7 separate regions of the Homo sapiens genome follow, and all the other regions are linked to region 6. The links are contacts of gene promoters, found by promoter capture Hi-C in blood cells and fetal thymus (Javierre and others, 2016). All regions are on one chromosome and are shown on one strand. The core of a region is centred on a gene start or on the middle of the fragment in contact, and the rest is flanking DNA. Distances in the headings are between cores, read along the strand shown. Region 1 overlaps TMTC1 (transmembrane O-mannosyltransferase targeting cadherins 1). Region 2 overlaps TMTC1 (transmembrane O-mannosyltransferase targeting cadherins 1). Region 3 overlaps OVCH1 (ovochymase 1). Region 4 overlaps OVCH1-AS1 (OVCH1 antisense RNA 1). Region 5 overlaps ERGIC2 (ERGIC and golgi 2). Region 6 holds the start of IPO8 (importin 8). Region 7 overlaps OVCH1-AS1 (OVCH1 antisense RNA 1).

The links. Contacts are between HindIII fragments. The CHiCAGO score rates a contact against its expected background, and 5 or more counts as called.
Region 1: a contact is called between a fragment that was not itself captured here and the fragment with the promoter of IPO8 in region 6, in 2 of 17 cell types (total CD8 T cells and total CD4 T cells). The highest score is 5.8, in total CD8 T cells.
Region 2: a contact is called between a fragment that was not itself captured here and the fragment with the promoter of IPO8 in region 6, in 2 of 17 cell types (M1 macrophages and neutrophils). The highest score is 5.8, in M1 macrophages.
Region 3: a contact is called between a fragment that was not itself captured here and the fragment with the promoter of IPO8 in region 6, in 4 of 17 cell types (neutrophils, monocytes, total CD4 T cells and 1 more). The highest score is 7.5, in neutrophils.
Region 4: a contact is called between a fragment that was not itself captured here and the fragment with the promoter of IPO8 in region 6, in 4 of 17 cell types (monocytes, M2 macrophages, M0 macrophages and 1 more). The highest score is 14.8, in monocytes.
Region 5: a fragment that was not itself captured here is called in contact with the fragment with the promoter of IPO8 in region 6 in 13 of 17 cell types (activated CD4 T cells, total B cells, naive CD8 T cells and 10 more); the score reaches 14.3 in activated CD4 T cells.
Region 7: a contact is called between a fragment that was not itself captured here and the fragment with the promoter of IPO8 in region 6, in 4 of 17 cell types (non-activated CD4 T cells, neutrophils, activated CD4 T cells and 1 more). The highest score is 6.7, in non-activated CD4 T cells.

Annotation. Positions count from the first base shown.
Region 1 is chr12:29,524,213-29,527,464 of GRCh38, forward strand. All of the region lies in intron 11 of TMTC1 (transmembrane O-mannosyltransferase targeting cadherins 1), which reads right to left. The region is part of intron 2 of LOC105369714 (a long non-coding RNA gene); the gene reads left to right. Among named protein-coding and RNA genes, the nearest start is that of OVCH1, 28 kb to the left of the region's middle. The HindIII fragment of the contact is 882 bases long and covers 898-1,779 here.
Region 2 is chr12:29,499,431-29,502,734 of GRCh38, forward strand. TMTC1 (transmembrane O-mannosyltransferase targeting cadherins 1) reads right to left here. Exons shown (of 18, transcript NM_001193451.2): 18 at 1,410-3,304. Among named protein-coding and RNA genes, the nearest start is that of OVCH1, 3.4 kb to the left of the region's middle. The HindIII fragment of the contact is 1,829 bases long and covers 809-2,637 here.
Region 3 is chr12:29,442,048-29,445,408 of GRCh38, forward strand. OVCH1 (ovochymase 1) reads right to left here. Exons shown (of 26, transcript NM_001353179.2): 23 at 3,231-3,356; 24 at 2,098-2,233; 25 at 1,314-1,453. The region is part of intron 1 of OVCH1-AS1 (OVCH1 antisense RNA 1); the gene reads left to right. Among named protein-coding and RNA genes, the nearest start is that of OVCH1, 54 kb to the right of the region's middle. The HindIII fragment of the contact is 5,628 bases long and covers 1-3,361 here.
Region 4 is chr12:29,424,322-29,427,561 of GRCh38, forward strand. The region is part of intron 1 of OVCH1-AS1 (OVCH1 antisense RNA 1); the gene reads left to right. It also overlaps a transcript of OVCH1 not described here. Among named protein-coding and RNA genes, the nearest start is that of OVCH1-AS1, 37 kb to the left of the region's middle. The HindIII fragment of the contact is 5,763 bases long and covers 1-3,240 here.
Region 5 is chr12:29,352,312-29,355,236 of GRCh38, forward strand. The region is part of intron 8 of ERGIC2 (ERGIC and golgi 2); the gene reads right to left. Among named protein-coding and RNA genes, the nearest start is that of ERGIC2, 27 kb to the right of the region's middle. The HindIII fragment of the contact is 992 bases long and covers 970-1,961 here.
Region 6 is chr12:30,694,311-30,697,203 of GRCh38, forward strand. IPO8 (importin 8) reads right to left here and starts at 1,559. Exons shown (of 25, transcript NM_006390.4): 1 at 1,254-1,559. The coding sequence starts at 1,337. RefSeq lists a silencer at 1,309-1,358 and an enhancer at 1,449-1,948. The HindIII fragment of the contact is 4,530 bases long and covers 1-2,893 here.
Region 7 is chr12:29,399,856-29,403,223 of GRCh38, forward strand. All of the region lies in intron 1 of OVCH1-AS1 (OVCH1 antisense RNA 1), which reads left to right. It also overlaps a transcript of OVCH1 not described here. Among named protein-coding and RNA genes, the nearest start is that of OVCH1-AS1, 12 kb to the left of the region's middle. The HindIII fragment of the contact is 928 bases long and covers 1,370-2,297 here.

The sequences.
Region 1 (3,252 bases), core at 89-2,588, 1.2 Mb before region 6:
AGATCAAATCAAGAGTTTGGAGTATGCTCCTTAGTCAGCATCTCCATGAACCAAACCAACTAAAATGAAATAGATCAAAGAATGAGCCAGAAAAGGAGTCTACTTGTTTTAATCAAGCAGTCTGTTTATTAATACCCTACAACCAAATCTCTGTAATAGTCAATGCATTTATTTACATGTAACAAATAGAGTCAGTAATGGTACAGATTTTTTTCTGTTTATCCAGTAGACAATCTAGAGTAATTTTATTATCCAGCACAACCTTAGCAAGAGAATTTAAAGATGACTTTTGTGTAATCAGTCTTTGTAGTACAATCTGTTATGGAGCCTATTATGAGGGATGAATTGTAATCATTATCTCCTTTAAATTATGGGAAAAGGGGCCTAAGAATTATGTCTAGAAGAGTGTAAAGAAACTCCATGTTTAAACTTCACTAGAAGAGTGAAGGCCCCTGGCAGTGTTGTTTTAAACCTATGATGTAGGTTAAAAGGAATGAACCAATGTTCTGGTTCTGACTGATTATGGAAGAATAAAGATGCCATTAAATGTTTTTGCTCACATTGGTCCTGAATCTTTTCTACCCAGGCATAAGACTGTCAATGTATAATGCTGGCTGCAAAGTCCTCTACAAATAAAGTTATACCTCATGATGTACACAAATCTCCCTTTTTAGTTTTATTGTTTATAGAGGCATAAGCAAGGAAAAAATTAAGAGAGGTAAGAGTCTGATGATAGCAGAAAAGTCTTGATCTGTGATCTTGGGAAAGCTGTCCATGTCTAGGATGCCATTTGTTTTGGGGAGAAACTTTCCTGATTAGCTTTATCTTAAGGTTTCAAATGGGTGTATAGGTCAAAGAGTCTGGAGGGCCCTTTTCAGTTGTGAGATTATGAACCTAAGCTTTGAGGTCCCAAAGTTTTGCTGTAGTGTGGGTGGCAAGGGCAGTCTTTTTTTTTTTTTTTTTTTTTTTTTTTTTTTTTTTTTTTTTTGAGATGGAGTTTTGCTCTGTCACCCAGGCTGGAGTGCAATGGCAGGATCTCAGCTCACCGCAACCTCCGTCTCCTGGGTTCAGGCGATTCTCCTGCCTCAGCCTCCCAATTAGCTGGGATTACAGGCACCCATCACCACACCCAGTGGCTAATTTTTGTATTTTTAGTAGAGACAGGGTTTCACCATGTTGGCCAGGCTGGTCTCGAACTCCTGACCTCAGGTGATCCACCCGCCTTGGCTTCCCAAAATACTGGGATTGCAGGTGTGAGCCACTGTGCTCAGCAAAGGGCAGTCTTTTTCTGATATCATTTTCAGAATATCCAGTCTCTGGGTTTTAGACCATGAAGGGTTTGATTGTCCACAGTCACTGATCATGAAAAGCCTTTTTTTTTTTTTAAATCTAGCGAAAGTATACTTTGGCATGATGTATTAAAGCCTTGTAGCATTTAGTCATATCAGAGTTTCAGACCAGAAAGTAAATGAGGTTTTGTTATTAGGGATATGGGCCCTCTACCGACTATTTTAGAAAGGCCAACTTACGTTTTCCCCTGGAAGTGGATCTGATTATCCACTGTATCCACTGTAATACTTTTGAATAAGACAATCTAGTTGAATCAGTTACCTTTGCCTAATGCTATTGTATCTGAAATACCTTATTTGTTTTACAACTTGTCCAGTGAATCAAGTGCCTTTTATTGCTAGAGATTTTTCTAGGAATGTCCCATGAGGGAAACACACTTTCTAATAATGTTTTAGCTACTATTACAGCCATCAGATTTTTGTATGAGAAAGCTTTCATATAACCAGAAAATACGCATTAAAAATGACAGTTGAATGAAATTTCTCTATAAATGTTTAAATGGCCCATCAGGTAGCAGAAATGTACCTGAAGTTTTGATTGTCTTCCCAGGATTATGAGTTTGACCACCCAAATATTAGTCAACCATTTTAGCAATTTAGAATAGTCACCATACCAATAAATACTTTAAAAATGTAACCTGGATCAGTTTATCCCTCCTATGATGAGTGATGGCATACAGAACTTTTAACAATGAAAGCTTGAAGGACTTTGGAAGGACCAGGTGGCCATTTAGGCTCTCCATGAGTATATGCTTAATACTGAATTTAGATCCTCTCAAAAACCAATTTTGTTTTTCAATTCAGATGTATAGCACTGTTTATTAGGTGGGCCATCATAGGTAATTTGAATTGGACCATAGAAGTTTATTTAAATTGTATACTTAAAACATTTTAGTGAGAGCTGATTTAGCATGAAAATCTGGCAAAGTGTTTTCTTGGTATTCAATTAATTCTTGTCTTGCTTGGGTTAGAAGTTTTATAACCCAGTCAGTCTCTTCATTAGAGTTTTGGGAATTCTTAATCCAAATAATGTGATCTTTAAGTTATCAGAAACCTGTTTTCAAGAGTGCTTGTCAGGGTTCTTTTCATCCTTTCTGTGAACCTCCTTGAAGATACGCCATTCTAGGATTTTACTTCTTTATCAAGAGCTTTTAGAAAATGTATCATAATTAAGCAATTAACTATGGAAAAGTTAACTATGGTCATGGTTAAAGATGTAATTGACAAAAAAGTTGTTTTTTTTCTCCTGTGGCCTATAATAATTTAATATAATAACCATAATTATGATGGATAACATACCAAGACATATCAGAATTTTAGGAATCTCATAATTTTGGAACATATATTAATAATGTATTCATAAAAACATAACTCAAGGCTAAACATTACTTATTTGACAATGCTTCTCATAGTTTAACATGTCAAATAAGTCTATAAACTCTCTTTTGGATGCTGCAGAAGGCCTCTGCAGAGTGTCTCAAGTTAGTTGAGGTCAAAAAGACTTCATTTCCAACTTGAAATTTGATTTAAGGAAAGAAGCCTGTCAAATATGTCAAAGGTTTAAAACATTTAATTAAAATATGATCACAGGTCACTGTAGAATAATAGTAATTCATTTAGCCAAAATGGTAATTAAAAGGTTTTAAAAAGCATTTATTCCTTGAGGGAGAAGAGGCTCTGTTTTTCAATCAAAAGATCTGAGAAAGACAACATGAGACAGAAGCTGTGTCAAGTTAAACTTAACACCATGCATGTGCCATGCATGTATACAGTGAAACAGAACAGTGAGTGAGAGACACAATCCCTACCTTCACCACTGAGTGGAATTCAGACAAGAAGGAGGCAATAATGTAGCTGTGGGAGGAGAAGCACAAGGTATGTGGGGGGCAGCCAAGAGTGGCAT
Region 2 (3,304 bases), core at 473-2,972, 1.2 Mb before region 6:
TCTGTGGTTTCTTTGTTTCAAACCTGGGAATCTCCATGCGGTGGGGCACTGTCTCATTTCCTGTTACAGAACAACTCCCTTTGTTTCCAGAGTTCAAAACCCACAGCTTCAACTGAGACCCTATTCTTATATACAAAGGTTTAGTCCCTTACAGGCCTCACATAATAATGCCTTTCCATTAAGTGGAAAAAGAGCCATTCAATAAGAATTACACACCATTAATAGCCAGGCCATAGGCCAGGCGCAGTGGCTCACGCCTGTAATCCCAGCACTTTGGGAGGGTGAGGCAGGCGGATCACCTGAGGTCAAGAGTTCGAGACCAGCCTGGCGGCCAACATGGTGAAACCCCATCTCTACTAGAAATAAAAAAAATAGCCGGGTGTGGTGGCACATGCCTGTAATCCCAGCTACTCGGGAGGCTGAGGCATGAGAATCGCTTGAACTAGAAGGCGGAGGTTGCAGTGAGCCAATATCGTACCACTGCACTCCAGCCTGGGTGACAGAGTGAGACTCCATCTCAAAAACAAACAAACAAACAAAAAAAGCCAGGCCATTAGTTTTAGTTTTAGACTCAAATTTTCTAAAAAAGTAATGGTTTCAATATAAATTGAGTTTGTAGTTATATTAAAACATCCAAATGGAAGAATCCTCTTTTTATGTTTAAAATAACTTCAGAAAAGGAAAGGATACCAAGGAGAGGAGTGGACTGGACTACCCCCAGACAGTGGTGACTTGTGATGTACAGCAAATCTGTCTTTAATTTGGACATCTTCACTAGTATAGGACAACTGTGATCTGCTATTCGAAAAGCTTGGCTGTGAAGGGCAGACGGAGATGTGATAGCAGCTACAGATAAAATGAAACAGAGGATTTTTTTTTTCAAATTGTTTCGGTGTTGATTGCCTGTGTATGTGCTTTAAGAAGAGTAGAACTGACAAATTGACAAGAGCCAGCAAAAGGAAGAAGTAAAAAGATGAAGGAGAAGTTAAGGCATGGAATGAAGTTCCATAAGAGGCAAAATGCAGAACCTAGGGTCCTCTTCTTCCATTACGATAACAGGAGAAAAGAAAGGATAGAATTAGGTGCAGGTAAATGTATAGATGAAGTGCAGGGCATTGGGGGACAGCTGCTTTCTACCTTTTATTTACTCTGTGAAGAGAGAGGTGACAGCATCTAAGCATGATAGGGGAGCGGATCTGGAGTGGGTGAGTACTGAATTGGCACTGTGCGGAGGAAGGGAAAGAGAGCAGACAGGAAGCACACAGAATAATGCAATGAAATGAGTAAATGAAAGAATGAAGGAAGGAAGATGGTCCTTTTTAAAACATTGTTAAAACAGACACTCCTGGTGACATGGACATCAGTAGGTACTAACCATGAAGTACTTGAGAGATTGAAACCAGACATACTTATTTTAATCATATTTTATATAAAATAGACATTTACATAAATTTAATTTTGGAAAGACCTAGGCAAAGTATACATCATTAGACTCAATGGGAGAAATACTTTATGGAAGATAAATTCTAACGGGCACAGCCAAAGTAACAAAAATGTACATTTACATACAACTGATCCAAACAGGAAGTAAAAGCATTATGAAAAAAGAACATGATGCAAATCATTTCCCCCTGACAAAAGGAGGGATCTGCGTGAATTACAGCAAATCAAATGATTTCCACATTATAAAAGCAAGCCATGGCTTCTACAGATATTTTAATTCCTTGGGAGGAAGTTTCACCTCATCTTTTTTCCCCAGTAAAGTAACAATCACTGTAGGAATTTTTAAGTGCACAAACTGCAAAATAGGAGTAACTACCTCTGCCATGTTCAAGCACTTGGGCAATTCAGTCACTTTTAGGGTTGTATCATTTAAAAAAGGGGCAACATTTATGAATTATCTCATCAGATGCATGGTGTTTTTCAATCCAGATTCAAGAGTAACTATTAGAGTTACTCATTGAGCTTAATGGAAACATCAAACCGACGAGTCCTTTCATGGGTGGTAAACATGACTGGGAGACAATGGCTAACTTGCCCCAGGTAAGGTGGCTCTTCAGTGGCAGAGCTAGAACTAGAACTAGAACTCAGATGTCTTGATTCTTGGGGTAGTGTACCCCTCCTATGGACCAGCAAGATAAATAACCCCCAAAGGACATCACACATACTGAAAACTACCAAATTTGTTACATATATATATATACAACGTGTACTACTGAGAATGCAAAGAAACTACTGGATTTTTAGAAATAGACATGTCTCTCCAGGTAGGAGTCAATGGTGATCTATGCTTACAAACCAATAATGACCATATATTGTGGTGGATGCTGATTTTATGAGTTACAGGCCCTAAAGATTTTAATTGAAAAGATCAATTAAAATCAATATTTTAATATCAGCCAATTGATTGTTATAAAGATCTTATCAATTCTGTTGTGCCACTTTGATTGATATTAAACCATACTTTTGATTGCAGTTATTTTCTGTTCTCTTTAAATTACATGGCTACAAATAAAATATTGAGGGAAATAATATTTTTTGGAAGAACTATTCAGCATATTTTCCTTTTGCATCAAAAACGTCAAGAATAATCATAAAATCTTATAATATTTCTCTATATTATTTTTTGACATCCTAAGCTTTTATCTTATTCAACTGCAACCTCAATGCTAGATTTGACAGGTACTTAATTCTTTTTAAATGTCAAAAGATACCATTTAAATAGCTAAGTTAACCTATATTTGGGAGATACCAACATATAATCAAATCAAAGTAAACATAATTTGGAAACCAGGAACAAAAATTTTTAAAAAATCACCTCTCACTATATTTGTTTTGAATGTCATTCCTAATATCCTCTAAATTTATTATTTTAAGAAGGTGAATCCACCACAAATCAAAGCAAAAGTTTTTTTTTTTTTCAAAAACAGATTCTAACAAGTACAAAGAAATAATTAACAAAAGCTCATGTGTGCCCAAAATAAAGATAGAGATGTAGGCATAAACTCTATACCATGGACACCTTCTATGAGTCACGAAAATATCAGTCATATATATACTGGCACTTAGTCTGGTACATGCAAATTTCAAGGCAATTCCTCTCCATCTGAGAACGAGGAATTGTGTCATTTTAAGGCCAAATTGCAGTCCAATTGCCACAAGTGCAAAACCACCCCACATAACCACCTATTTGTAATCATGGAATGATAGCCTCAACCAACCAATTGTGCCATACATCATTGTTAAGACTTCTTTGGCTCATTTTAGTATAGACTTAAAAGTAAAAATTGCAAAAGATGATAAA
Region 3 (3,361 bases), core at 45-2,544, 1.3 Mb before region 6:
GTGGAAGTCAGTGTGGCGATTCCTCAGGGATCTAGAACTAGAAATACCATTTGACCCAGCCATCCCATTACTGGGTATATACCCAAAGGACTATAAATCATGCTGCTACAAAGACACATGCACACGTATGTTTATTGCGGCACTATTCACAATAGCAAAGACTTGGAACCAAGCCAAATGTCCAACAATGATAGACCGGATCAAGAAAATGTGGCACATATACACCATGGAATATTATGCAGCCATAAAAAATGATGAGTTCATGTCCTTTGTAGGGACATGGATGAAATTGGAAATCATCATTCTCAGTAAACTATCTCAAGAACAAAAAACCAAACACCGCATATTCTCACTCTTAGGTGGGAACTGAACAATGAGAACACATGGACACAGGAAGGGGAACATCACACTCTGTGGACTGTTGTGGGGTGGGGGGAGGGGGGAGGGATAGCTTTAGGAGATATACCTAATGCTAAATGACGAGTTAATGGGTGCAGCACACCAGCATGGCACATGTATACATATGTAACTAACTGCACATTGTGCACTTGTACCCTAAAACTTGAAGTATAATAATAATAAAATAAAAAAAAATAAAAAAAAGAAATTTTATGATGGGGAAACTTCTACACAATTGTAATACCAAATTTAATAATCCTTTTCCTCTCTTTATGTTTTTCTCTTTATTTTATTAAGAATAGATCCATATACAACTAAGTAATGTCAGCTAAAGTATGAGATAAAATATGTTAAAATGCAAATATTTAGGAAATTCTGCCATCAAAGAGAAAAATAGGTATTTCAGTAGCATTTTTCTCATTGACAATTCTAGTATTTATCAACTTGTAAAGATGTTTTTCCCAAATTAAATAAAAACAACGATTTGTGCCAAAAAAAAAGAAAATAATGAGTTTAAATTAAAGTAACCAGGCTTCTAACTCCTACCAATTGATAAACTCATGTAATGCCTTTTGCTGTGATTATTTTGCCTTATTAATTTTATAGTCTTAATTTTCTTGTGTTTTTGTCTAAAACTGCTTCATTCATTCTTTATTTTTAGTATTTCTGAGCAATTTTAATCTAGGTATGATCCATGTAAGAAACGTTGTTGGACTTTGTTTTTAACTAAACCTGAGGAGATTTTATATCTTAATTTTAAATCTGACACAAGTTTAACAGTAAGTCTATTTCAACATCCTATAAGAAGAGACTAGTGTATGTCACATGTAAGCCACATACTGAATATGAAACAATCTAAACATGTTTCATCAGAGAAAAATCAGTAGCATAGAGATTCATGGGAAATCAGTTACCTATTAATTTTTTTCCTGGTCCAAATCCTTCGTAAACACGCAGATGACCATGACAGACAAAAGTTGTTGGCTTCATCGGGAAGTTAATAATATTAAGCTGAATGATGTGATTTAAAGGGGCTACTAATCTCCATTGGCAACTATGGCATAGATGAAACAAAGTCAGAAATTATTTCTAAACAGAATATATTGTTAGTTATTTTGCTCAGAAATTAATGCATCAATGTTATTGACCCCCAGTGAGCCTTATTTTTTGTGTCTGTTTCCTTATGGTTGTGAGAGAGAAAGATTTGTACTTTAAATTATATCAACTTTATTATCTAATACGTAATTTGCCAAAATTTATAAAGTTCATACATTATGAATGGCTGACCAATTGTGTGTATTGTTTTAAATTCTGATTGAAAATTTATAAGATCTGAAGGACCTATATGTGCCAGAATTTGCCCCAAACTCCCACACATCATTTATTAAGTATCTACTATGTACCCAAATATTTTACATACATTATATCAGCCTCCAACATTCTTTGTAAAGATTTGACTTTTCACTTTGCTAATACATGGTCTATTTTGTTGAGAAAGTACAATTGATAAACAAGGACATTCTTATATTGTTTTGTTTTGTTTCCATATTAAAAGCCATAGATTAGGGGTTACCTAAGAGTCTATTCTTTTTGGAAAAAAGGTGAAGAATAATGTTTTAAGCAAGTACCAAGTGTTGATGTCAGTCAAGCAATTTTTTCCACACACTTCTTCCATTATAATAATCATGACTTCCTTACCCCATAGTAGTTCTGTGAGAATTTCTTGGGATCTGCATGATCCCTTCTGGCTTGGTCAGAAGAACATCCTCACAAGGGACCAAGTGCTCTCTGTTTGAACTTTGGGAAAGTCTGGTTATTTTACTGTCCTTTGGACCTAAAAGAACAGGAAGCAGAGAAAATGAGAATAAAACCAATTTTTAACAGGCTTCCTATATGCCTTTTCAGATCAAGGTAAACAGCTCTCTTCCCTAATTGTCCTGGGAAAACAAGTAATTATTAGGAGGTGGTTGGTTTCACTGAAAATTTTCTCCGTCTTAAATATTCAAAAGGTATAGGAAACAAACACATCTCTCAGATGATCTCTGACATAGCCTAGGGTCTATGGAAGATTATAGGACACAGCTATAGATAATACCTGTTAACTGCCTAATTCCATCTGAAAGCAGTATTCTTAATATATTCTTCCAAGAGAAAACTTTCATATGATATAAATGCTTTATTACTTAATTAACTTTTTCCAAATATACAGTATACACAGGTCTAGAATAACATATTCTCAGCAATGCTTTTAGGTGCCAAGGGGGGAAACTAGCTTTCAGTTGTCTACATCAAGAATAAAAAAAAATCTCACTAATTACATATTCTAAAGTTCAATCTGACAACTCTGAATTACATTGTTTACATTTATAATACTAGAATCTAATATTTGTGTAGTTTGTTTTCAAAACTTACTCTAATCTTTTATTACATCACTAAAAGAAAATTCTAATCAGAGATAATAAATTGTCCAGAGCTAATCAGCCAGCTAAGATTTAGAACCCAAATCTTCTGAGCCACAAGAATTTACAGCTACAGAAAACATTCTTTGTGGTATAAAATTGCAACCACAGAAAAAAGTTATCTTGCAATGAACATATCTTAGCCATTTTCAGAAATCATATACAATTCAATCAAGTTATCCATTGAGCAGTTTCCCTTTTGGACCTGATCAAATCTTAGGTGACTTAAGTAGATTTTCCTTTCAAACATATACTCATTTCCCCACAGAAACATAATTTCTTTCAAAATGTTGTATATGTTTGGAAATATTCCTAAATAGAGTAATATTGATTTCTTTAGCCTTTACAAGTTTATAAAATAACCAAACATACCTAGGACTTTCAAGACAATATAGCTTATACCAAATGCACCTCGTACAAGGGCATGGAATGTCACCCTCACCAGCGGTCCAGGACTCATGAAAGTCATTGAGTAAAGTCTTCTTCCATGTAATCCACCTAGG
Region 4 (3,240 bases), core at 505-3,004, 1.3 Mb before region 6:
GGGCCAGGTGTTCCTTGCCCTCATTCCAGTAAACTCACAACCTTCCAGCATGGGCATCATGGCCATCATGAAGATGTCACAGTGTTGCAGAGATTTTGTTTTGGGGCCAGTTCATGGCCAGATTTTGGGGGGCCTGTTCCCAACAGGAAACTGTTACTCTGTTTTTCAAAAAGGATGTTTGGGAGCATAAGGCGGTAGGTAGGAGACAGAGAAAAACAGAGAGGTGTAGGGGTTTCCAAAGTCCTGTCAGTGAAGGGACATAGCTTAGTGCTTACAGGCACAGATTCTAAAACCAAACTGCTGGTTTGAACCAACTCTATCCCTTATTAACTATATGGCAAGCTACTCAACCTCTCTCTGTGCCTCGATAATCTCATCTGCAAAATGGAGATAATAACTCCATAATAACCTGCCATATTAACTATATGGCAAGTTATTCAATCTCTGTCTGTGCCTCAGTATTCTCATCTGCAAAATGTAGATAAAAACAATATTTTCTTAGGATTAAATCAGTTGGTATTTACAAAGTATTATACATATTTGTTAAACGAAAATAAACCTCAGCAAAATTTTTACAGCAAATTATTAGACAGATGGTTTTTGAACACTTGGAGGAGGAATCAGTGGTCATGAGAAGGCAACATGGGATCCTTAACACGCCACATTAAATTAACCTAATTTCATTTTTTAAAAGAGCTAATTAGATGGTGGCTAGGGGGAATGGGATGAACTTAATGAACCTTGACTTCAATGAAGCACTTAATAAAGTGCCTGTGATGTCCCTGTGAACAGACAGCAAATGGTACGTAGATAATTATGTGGCTAGGAAGTTCCACAGGTGATTAAATAACCATACAAGAAATGTTAACCTGGAGGGAAGGTCTAAATGGTATGGAAATGATTCTGTCTTTGGTTCCACCGAGTACGGTATTTCATTGATGACTTAGACAGAAATACAGAAAACACATTTATAAAGCCTGTAGGTTGAAGATAGGTGGCTGGAAAAGGGGCTAGTTTAAATACAGGCTCCTAGATTATTAAGTTGAACATTACACCTAATACAGAGTTTACTCTAAAATAATCCAAAACATATAATGCTCGCCTTGAAGATATGACCTGGAACTTATCAGCATTTTCTCCTTTTAAACTGATCTAATTTCTAGACTGTTCTTCCTCTCCTTGTGTCAAAAGGCATCAATGTGATGACTACCACGTGGTTAGAATAGTGGCCAAGAACACAGAGTGCTTCAGTTGAGTCCCACGTTTTCTACTTATTAGCGATGTCACTGGAGGCAATTTATTTAACAGTTTTGTGACTTGCTTGTCTCATATTTAAAATGAAGATAATGTAACCTACCTACATAAGATTGTTAAAAGATTAAGAGTTTTCATCTTCATGAGATTGGGTCTTAGCTCAACAATGCCTGGATAATGGTAAATATTTAATAAGTTATTAGATAATATTAAGCAGAACAAGTTTTGTACATGGCCTGAGAACCTCTCCATGAGAATTCCATGTATATTTAAAAAGAATTATGATCCTTCTGTCTTCTCTCTTCTCCAAGGTAAACATGCCCAGGATGTCCACACCCTTCTACATCCTGCTCATTATGCTCTTTGGATGCACTCCAGTTTGCCAACGTTCCTTAAATTTGTGTTTGACCAAGGGGGATATTCAAAATATTTAGTAACCAGATTGCACACCAACAAGTAAAGAACTTGTGAGACTCAGCTAGTACTATGGTACTATGATTCCCTTTATCTTTTAATTCTTTACTATCGCTGCTCTGAATTTGTAATCATTTGACACCTCTGGAATTAGTTCAAACATCCCACTTTCTAAATCACCACCTCCTAAGTATATTAATATTTCTTTGCTACAATTATTTAATCTCACCATGACCTTCTAAGCCATTGATCCCATAAACTTCCTAAATCCATCAACCCTTTAAAAAGTGAGAAATTTTGCTTTAAAAGGAAGCAGAGAAATGGGATAATTGCTGACTTACATTAGTTTTAGTTTGTTTTAAATGATAGATAATATTAGAACATGTTTGAAACTGATGAGAATGATAGAGAAGATAGACGATGTAGGAGAAAGGATAACTAAATTAGTGAGAAACTGAAAAGTCCCAAATTGATATCTATAGCTCCAAATCCTCCACTAGCTCAAGAGTTCTATCTCTAGCTAACTAGTGGCAACTCAATCTGGATATATCAGAGCAATGTTTTTAGCATGGCCCAAACAGATATCTCTCTATAAATCTTTTTCTCCCTGTCATATTTTCCATCTCCATAAATGCTTTCTCCAGTGTCTCACATCATAAACCTAAGAGTCATTCTTGATTTGCATACTGAATTCCATATTCAATCCATCAGGAAATCCTCTCCATTCTATCTCCAGATCTGTCTACTTCACTCGCATTCCATTATTGTTATCCTCCTCTAAAGCAACATCATCTATTGTCTAAAACAGTGCAATAGAACTTTCTGCAATGATGGAGCTTTCTATATCTTTGCTGTCCAATATGGTAGTCACTCGCTACATGTAGCTACTGAGCACTTGAAATGTTGGTATTGTCACATTTTACTTCATTTTAACTAATTTACATTTAAATAGCAACATGGATTGGACAGTGCAGGTGTAGACAAGAGCCTCATAACTATAGACACAATTCACTTTGTCACTCCAGATCAGCCTTCAAATTACTCCCCTGTCAAAACTTATGATGACCTCCTATTGAACTGGAATAAAATCCAAAGTCACTATCATAGCCTGAGCTGCACAATTGGAGAAAGCCTCTCTGCTCCACCACCCCACTTCATTCTAGTCTGTCCTTGCTCAATCTCTCTCTAGTCACTCTGACCTCTGACAGTTCCCTAAGTTACCAAGCTCTTCCCTCATTCAGGGCCATTTTTTCCACTTTTTCTTTTAAAAATCAAATATTTTCTGTCAAGCAGTGCTTTAGACATTGAGGATACAGCAAGAACAAAAGAGACAAAGTTCTGTTGCCAGGAAATTTTAATTCTGGTAGAAGAGACAAATTATAAATGAATGAAAGATAATACTCCATCAGGCCATGATCAATCCCTAGAAGAAAAGGTTAAGGAAGGCTATTTAGATTGTATGATAGAGGAGGTCTCAGGTAAGGTAGCATTTGAATGATTGAGGACGTGAAACTTGAGACAGAATGTGCTTGGTTAGAGGCCTCTTCCTCCATGTGAGGACCCAGTGAGAAT
Region 5 (2,925 bases), core at 216-2,715, 1.3 Mb before region 6:
TATATTTCTCATGTATTATATTACTCCCCTTCTGATTTATTTTCAAATATTTAAAAATGTAAAAACCATGTCTGGGCAAGGTGGCTCACACCTGTAATCCTAGCACTTTGGGAGGCCAAGGTGAGTGGATCACCTGAGGTCAGGAGTTCGAGACCAGCCTGGCCAACATGGTGAAACCCTGTCTCTACTAAAAATACAAAAATTAGCCGGGCGTGGTGGTGGGCTACCTGTAATCCCAGCTACTCAGGAGGCTGAGGCAGGAGAATCACTTGAACCTGGGAGGCAGAGATTGCAGTGAGCCCAGATCACGTCACTGTACTCCAGCATGAGCAACAGAGCGAGACTCTGTCTCAAAAAAATAAACAAACAAATAAATAAACAAAATTTAAAAGCCCTTCTTAGCTCATGAACCATACAAAAACAGGTAGTAGGCTGGATTTGGTATATAAACTGTAGTTTGCCTACCACTGCAGTAAACCTTTGTTCTGTTATACACTGTTATCTTTCAAATTTAACCTGTTCTTTTAGCACCTTTACACTTCTACAAATAAGTACTATCCTTCCCTGTTCCTGGTTAAAAAAAATTAAAAAATCACCTTGAAGATCTCCTTTATCACAATCCTGCTTTACCCAGTTACTAATTCTAGCAATTAACTAAAAAACTGAAAATAGAAACTCTCCATAAAGGAGCCTTCTTTCTTTATAACCAATTAACTGTCTGTTACCATTGTCAAGTTTCAGAATATGCCCTAGTAGGTCTAAACATTGTTTAATTTGTTCTATGTGTTACCTAGCAAAACACCAGGCACTTTAAAAAAGGCAATACAATGATTAGGGAAATGTATTAACTGACATTCAACATAAAGTATACTAAAACCTTGCTCAATAAAGCATTTCCTGATGCACTGGAATGATTGGTAGTTTGGTCTCGTAAATTCTTCTGTGTTCACAGTCAAGTGTATTACCTCAAGCTTACTACTAAAAAGAAAGTCTACTGTCATAAATTATTACTAGCTCCAATCATATTGTCAGTCTAACAGTGTTCCTACTATTATTTTCAAACAAACAACAAAGTTTTTCTGAATAACCAAATTACAATACTACACGTTGAATATCCCTTATCCAAAATGCTTGGGATCAGAAGTTTCAAATTTTAGATTTTAGAATATGTACATTTTATTTGCCAGGGAGGCCTCCCTAACCTGAAATCTGAAACACTCTTAAGCATTTCCTTTGAGCATCGTGTTGACAATGCTCAAATTTGGAGTATTTTGAATGCTCCAAATTTGGAGCATTTTGAATTTCAGATTTTCAGATAAGGGATGCTCAACCTATACATTTTACTTCAATGATCTCTCTCACCACCCAGGATTTTACTCTGAGAGGAACAGAGAGCTGTTTTAAATAATATTTCCTTCTTTTTTTTTTTGTTAACAGGTGTATTCATTTTATGAAGTAACAGCATAAGTGAGCATCTTCTTCAAAAAATTAAATTTAAAAATCAAATTAAATCACCCTAGTACAGATGACTGTAGTTATCTGACACTTGTTAAAACTCTGCATAGGGAGGATGGATATTCAGAATTTACCTGTTTCTTTTCTGGGATATTTTCTACCCTATCAGACAAGAATCTAGCCTGAATGACTTTCAGTGGAGGAAAAGTTGTTCTGAAAATTGGTGGGGGGTGAAGAGAGGCATTTTGAGTTGTCAGAATTATTGGGAAGGGGTTGCTATTGGGATTTACTGGACAACAGCCACAGAAACAAGGCATCCTGCAATGAAATTGACAGTCTCACACAAAAAAGAATCATTCCAGGATTTGCCTGACTTTCAAATGTTCTAAGAGATACTCATGTACATGAAAAGCCTATTATAATAATCTGAGTCTAGAACTGAACCCCATTTAGCTATATAAAGTTGTAGTTTTAATATACACTAAATTTCCCAGAAAACTAAGGGAAGCTTATATTCTGTTTTGTTTAATATTACAAAGAGGTATTCCTATTTCTGAATATCATCTCATCAACGGAAATGTCACTCATGATATCTGAGTAGCCAATACATCTGTTTCAGTCTGCATTTGTAGCAATTATACACTTAAAAATTCTACATATAAGTGGCAAGCATCTGCCTACTTCATTATGTCTTCTAGTGTATTCACGCTCAAGCATATTGAAATACATATTGTGTTACAAATTATGTTCCTTTTATTACTCTTTTAAATTACAGTTGAGACTGACATTGTGTCTGAGAGGTAATATGAGACCTTCAAAAAGATCAATATTGAACTTGACAAATGTAACACTAAAAATTAGGAGTGGGTTTACAGGATATCCCTGAGATGACAAGATATGAACCAAATGCTTTTCTATTTGGCCTCTCTGATAGTGTGAGTTACCACCTGGGAAGGAAAGTGAAATTGTGAAAAGACCAAAAACAAATTTTAAAAAGGGACATAATATAGAGTCTGATTATAATATTTGTCAAAATTTCCCTCTTTGAGTTGGTTGTGGACTAGAATATTGTTTGTATCCAAAGGTGCAATAAAATCTGCTAAATTTCTTTAAGCTAAGATTTCAAGACATTCCAAGGTTCCCAGCAACAGGTTGGGTTGGAGATGGGTAATGGTAACAAAACAACAAAACATAAATTTCAAGAGATAATGAGGAAAAAAACAAATGTTTGATCTGAGTATTGTAAATACTGAAATACTTTTTCATAGAAATCTAATGTTATCTCTATATGTATTTTATAAACTTCCAGCCATGCTCTTTCCTGCTGTATGCCCTTCCCTCCTTTATATATTAAATTCCTCCTCTTCTCCTAGTGTTCAAAGGTCTTCCTCAATAAAGTCTCCACTGACTTGCAGCGTACATTTAATACCTTGTTAAATAGTCTCTTATCAGCCATACTTCTCCTTTACA
Region 6 (2,893 bases), core at 309-2,808:
AGTGCATTATCTTTGGGCATTAGTTCAACCCAACCTCCTCTCCATTGGCAGTGTCTTCACTCTCCCTTTTATCTCTGGGGAATCCTGCATTTATACCTACTCCAAACTCCACCTAGGTTTCCTATTAAAATAATCCCTTTCAAAGATTCCCAACACGCAGCTTTTTAAAGTCAATTCCAACAGAAACATTTACTTAGGACAGTCACACTTCAGTCACACTTCGGGAGGCACAGAATCACCTGGGGGAGCTAGTTAAAATACAACTGGTCCCACCCCCACAGTTTCTGATTCGTTAAGTCTGGACTGAAGCCCCGTAATTTGCATAATTTGTAAGTTCTCAGGTGATGCTGAAGCTCCAGGTCCTGGGCAACGCTTTGAGAACAGCTGATTTTGGAATATTTACATTTTACAAGTCATCACAACCTAAAACAGCTGTTGCTCCATCCCAGTGGTAGCTCTTAATCCCTACTTTTTAGTAAGAGGTCTGTGATTCTTAAGTACCGGTAGGGAAGAAGAAATAAGCTGGAGTTTGGGATCATTAAAATTTTGAAGTGTGGGGGTAACGCTGGAAAGACGTCAAGGCTAATTAGGAAGAACAGGAGACGGAGAAAAGAAAGAAGTCTTACACATTTTAGCATTCATAAGAAATTTCTCCAACACATCTTACTTTGATGTGTCTTAGATAAAGCAGTATCACCATGAAAACTGCCTATTCTTCCCAGAGCACTCTCCCAACAGCACTGCCCAGCGCTCCGCAAAACTCGGCCAATCGGTGTCAAAACAGTCCTGCCAACCCGACAGGAGGAGGCGGTGGGCAGCGTGCTCCACAGCAACACCTAAAAAGGGCTGGGTTTGGAAAAAAGCTGAACTCAGATTTGAACTGTAAGTAAAATTCCCACCTGCTCCCCAAGTCCGCGCACTTAAGGAAAATAAATCACACCCTGAAAACACTAGCACAGGTTGCAAAAACTGCTTCTTGCGGACCAAGTAGGCAGAACAAACTGCCCTGGAGAAGGGAGACGACACGAAAAGGTGCAAAGGTGGCCAACAGGTGCGCGAGCTGTTCGGCAAAGATCCTGGGAGCCCTGCTCCACTGGACCGGGGGGCAGCGGGGTCGGAGAGCGGGACCAGCCGTGAGGCGTCAGCCCCAGCCCGGTGGGGGTGAGGACGAGGGGCGCCGGGGAGAGGGAGCCCGGCCAGCCGGCAGGGGCGCCCCTTCGGCGGAAGAGGGTCGCCGAAGACCCTCTCCTCACCTGGTTGAGCTCGTTCTCGGCTGCAATCCGCAACTTCGGGTCGATGGTGCCCTTCAGCGCCTGGATGATCCGGTTGAGGTCCATCTCCCCGGGTGGGGGCTCCGCGGCCCCCGGAACAGTAGGCCGGACTGCAGCTTTAGTTTTCTTTTGACCCTCTCAGCCTCCTCTTCCGCGACCCCTGGATTACCTCACACCCCACCCCCCGCCACCGTCGCCACCTGCGGCCACTTGCTGCGCCACTCTGACTCCGCGCCCCCTGTCCTCCCTTTTTCCCCCCCACAACTCGCTCTCCATTCACCGTTTTACGACAGCCGGTGGGAGGCGGGAGAAGGAAGAAGAGGAAGCAGAGCTTCCTTTACGGCGGCCTCTTCCCCCGGGCGTGATGCTATGACCGCCTCCCGTCGGCGGCCGCCATGCTGCTGTACGGAAAACGGCCTAGGCTTCTTTCCCGGAAAGGAACCCGCGCTCCCGAACTCAGGCAGGCGGCCGCTATGCTTCCGTACGGTAAACAGCCTCCCGCCTCTTCCCAGGTGAGGAAACTTGAGCTGGCCGGGAGTCTGCTTACAGCTGCTTCCAAATTAAGCATATCTGGATGGTGTGACACTTTTTGTTAGTCCGAGAACTGTATGGGCATCGCAACTGGGCCTGTTCCAAGATAGACTTGTTGGGACCTTCAAATCATGTACCTTACAGGAGGACAGGGTTCCTCCGTGTGTGGGAGTCATCGTTCATTCATTCATTCGCTTTCACTGAACATTTGTTAAACATATATTTTTGAACCAGAGTACTAGGATTTTTAGGTACCACATTATAACAAGATGAATTCCATGCAAGTTAATGTGAAGGAATTCACAACCTGATAGATGAGACAAATATAAACAAAAAAAATTTACAGTGTAGAAATGATAGGGGAGTGCTGGGAAGGGAAGAGCGTGGTCCCTTTAAATGATAGGGATGGGCGAAGTGAAGTGCTGGGTAGAGGAGTGTGTGGTCCCTTGCTAGGGCTCCACGCCCACCGACCTAGGTGAGGACTGACACTCCTGCCTTCCAGCCCAAATGTTGCATTTCCCAAGACCACCCTGGCCTGCCACTCCCCCATACTGTGCCTATGAAAACCCCAGACCCTAGCAGGCAGGTACACAGGCAGCCAGACGTCCAGAGGAGCATAAGGGTGGAAGAAGAGGAGCTCGCTGGCACATCCGCAGGCCATTCACGGGCAGAACGATGCGGAGGTTGGCCTGGGCAGTCGGAAAAGAGCCCGGGCCGCCAAGCGGCCTAACTCCAGAGGAAAACCATTTCCCTTCTGGGTCCCTCATCTGCTGAGGGCTACTTCCACTCAATAAAACTTTGCACTCATTCTCCAAGCCCACGTGTGATCCAATTCTTCTGGTACACCAAGGCAAGAACCCAGGATACAGAAAGCTCGCTGTCTGTGCGACAAGGTAGAGGGTCTAATTGAGCTGGTTAACACAAGCCCCCTAAAGGCAAACTGAAAGAGCATCCTGTAACACACACCCACTGGGGCTTCAGGAGCTGTAAACATTCACCCCCAGACTCTGTCAAGGGGTCGGAGCCCCACAGCCTGCCGGTCTGTATGCTTCTCTAGAGGTCTGAGCAGCGGGGCACTGAAGAAGCGAGCC
Region 7 (3,368 bases), core at 584-3,083, 1.3 Mb before region 6:
CCGGCTAAATTTTTGTATTTTTAGTAGAGACGGGGTTTCACCGTCCTAGCCAGGATGGTCTCGATCTCCTGACCTCGTGATCCACCTGCCTCGGTCTCCCAAAGCGCTGAGATTACAGGTGTGAGCCACCATGCCCAGCCCCACCCTTTCTTAATCACTGTAGTTTTACTTTCTTTTATTATAATCCTTCTATTTTCTTCTGCCTCTGTCAGAGTTTCTTAGTAACTTTGGACCTAGCAGTTGTTTTTGTTGCCATTATTTAATAATTTGGTTAAAATTTACTCTCATACATACCAGTGGGAAATAGAAAAACACAAGTGCTAATATTATGAATAATAAAGTTGAGACAAAGATGCAATCAAGAGATGGGCCAACATTGTTAATCTTCAGCGAGAATAAGATACTTACTAGACTTAAGTTGTTGACTGTTTGTTAAATTGACAAGGAAAGTGTGAAATGTTGGCACTACATCATTGAAACACATATCAGAAAGAAAAGGTGAAGGGTTAGAGGAAATGAAGTAATGTAATTTATGACTTAAGAATGAACAAAAAAATTTTCCAATGATCCATGTGACAGGAGAAACTCACACTATGTGGAGTTGTTGATAGGGAAATAGCTTGTTACATAAGAGATGGTGTATAAAACATAAATACTAAACTAAACCAAGTCAACTATTATTTAAACCTTAAAACTCAGCTCAAATATTACATTCACTTATTCCTGCAGAAAACAGTAGTTGTTCCTGCCTAGGCTGCTGGCTTCTATAGCATGTTGAATAGTAGTTATCTTCATGTATTGTTTTTCTCTATTATAATGAGATTCTACAGATGAAAGCTTTCTCTTTCTAGGTGTCTCTGTCTGGCACACAGTAGGTGGTCAAGAAGGATTTTTAAAAATACATGAATAAAAATCAGGTTATGAGTTCTCTAAGTTCTTTAAATTTGGCCATGTAACCCTTACATCATAGATAAATTTACACAGTTGATGGCAACGAAATACATAGAGAGCTTCACATTGAAACACAAAACGGAGCCAGGCATGGTGGCTCACTTTGGGAGGCTGAGGTGGACAGATCACGAGGTCAGGAGTTCGAGACCAGCCTGGCCAACATGGAGAAACCCCATCTCTACTAAAAATACAAAATTAGCTGGGCATAGTAGCGGGTGCCTGTAACCCCAGCTACTCAGGAGGCTGAGGCAGGAGAATCGTTTGAACCCAGGAGGCGGAGGTTGCAGTGAGCTGAGATCATGCCATTGCACTCCAGCCTGGGCGACAGGGCAAGACTCTGTCTCAAAAAAAAAAAAAAAAAAAAAAGAATTACAAAAGAGAGAGTGGTTCTTGGAAAGAAGGCCAAAGAAAGAAAGAAAGCTTATGCGCCCTCCTCAATTAAATTGGCTTTCAACTAGAGGAAAAGTAAAACAGCTCTAACACAGTAGGTCCTATTAAAGATTGAATATGGAAGAACTCTAAAATTATAGCCAAACAGAAGCCAAAAACAGAACACCAAATAGCCTGTGACTCTCTTAGGGAAATCAGGTGGCTACTCTGGGTCAAACAGGGGGTGCTAACCTTGCACCCTTTGCTGAAGGACCTTGAGAGCATCATCCTCTAGGGGCTCAGAAAACAATGCCCCAAAATGAAGGCCTCAGAAGCAAACATTTCCTGACCTTGTCCTGCTCTCCAATTTTTCAGTCCCATTCTCCCCCATAGATAGCCATAGAAACTAGGATCCCTCTTCCCCAGGGTAGGTCATAGAAATCAGAACCCATTTTGCCAAAGTCAGCCATAAAACCTAAAAATATTACTCTAACTTCCTGCTGCTCCAGCCTTTCTGTGTAAAAACTTGCCATAAAGAAATTATCTGACTTACCTTGTTTGACTGTAGGTCATCAGACCCCCATTTCAGAGAGAGAACTGCCTCATACCAGTAGGAAAAAATGCATGCTTAGAGAGCCAAGAGAATAGAGACAGACAAGCCTCACTGGGTTTCCCCACTCAGTCTGCCAGCATTAAATCATACACTTTTTGTCAAATCATATCTCTACATGGCTCTCTGTACTAAGCATAAAAATGGACAATTTCTCCTGTATCGTCTCATGTGTATACATGTTAAACAAATTTGTATGACATTTCTGCAATTAATCTGCCTTTTAGGGTCCATTTTTCAGTAAACCTTCAGACTTGGCCCCTACTACACCCAAATCACCACCCAGGGAAGTCACAATAGCGATTGTGTCAGCAACAAAATTAATGGCCAGCAGATCAAAGTGTGAGGGGAAAAAAAAGAAAAAAAAAGCTTTAGACAGGCCTGACATTTCATACAATACAACTTTAATCCCCTTTAATATCATCTAATAAAAAGAAGAGATCCACAAAAGACAAAGTAAAAATGGTACAAAACAGATTAACATGAGAATTAGAGAATCCCTATTGCAAATCTCATCTTTCATTTTTCCTCAGTGTTCCTATCCAAAAGTATAACTTAATGAAAGCAGAACCTTTAGACCAATATTCATGTGAGGGTTTTTAGTAAATACTAGGACATTTATAATACTTTCTCATTGTAGCATTTGCAAAGGAAAGGAAAGGTTGAGAGAAAAAGAGAGGAGTTGGGCAGAGGGTTGAGAGAAAGAGGGAAAAGAGAAAGACAGAAAAGGTTGGTAAGAAAAGGAAAGGGAAGGGGAAGGGAGGTTGGTTGAAAGAGAAAGATGGAGGGCATTGAGAAAGAAGGATTGAGAGAGGGAAGGAGGATGAGAATTTGGAAGAGTATAAGAGATTGGGGAGAGGGAGAAAAGAAAGGAGAAGAGGGAGGTTGTTAATTGAAAAAAAAGTAGAGGGATTGAGAAAGAAAAAGTGATTAACAGAGGTGAAAAGGGAGAGATGGATTGAGAAGTTGAAAGAGTGTAAGAAGTCCAGAGAGATGGGGTTAGGGAGGGGGAATGTAAAAGGGAACAGGAGGTGGGGAAGAGAGAGAAAAGAGGTTGAAGGAAAGGAAGAGAGGTTAAAAGAGAAAGAGAGTGAGAAAAGAGGGAAGTTTTATTTTCTAATACCATTACAGAAATATTTTGTGCTCATATTTGACTTCCAACTTTTAAATCAAGGTTCATTAGACAAAGATTATTAACCAGTTTCAATGAAGCCTCAGTTACCTCCAGCCTTAAATACAGACAGAAATATTTGGGAAACATACCATTTTGTTCGAGAGTTAAGGATTCCTAATTTAAGTATATAAGCTTTTTGACTTTAATTTTGAAGAGCAAAATTTTCATAATGTGGATGTACTAAAGCTAACATCTTGATGTATTATTGTAATTACAATTATTAGGCTGAATCATATAAAGTAGCTAATTTTCAAACTTTTTAAT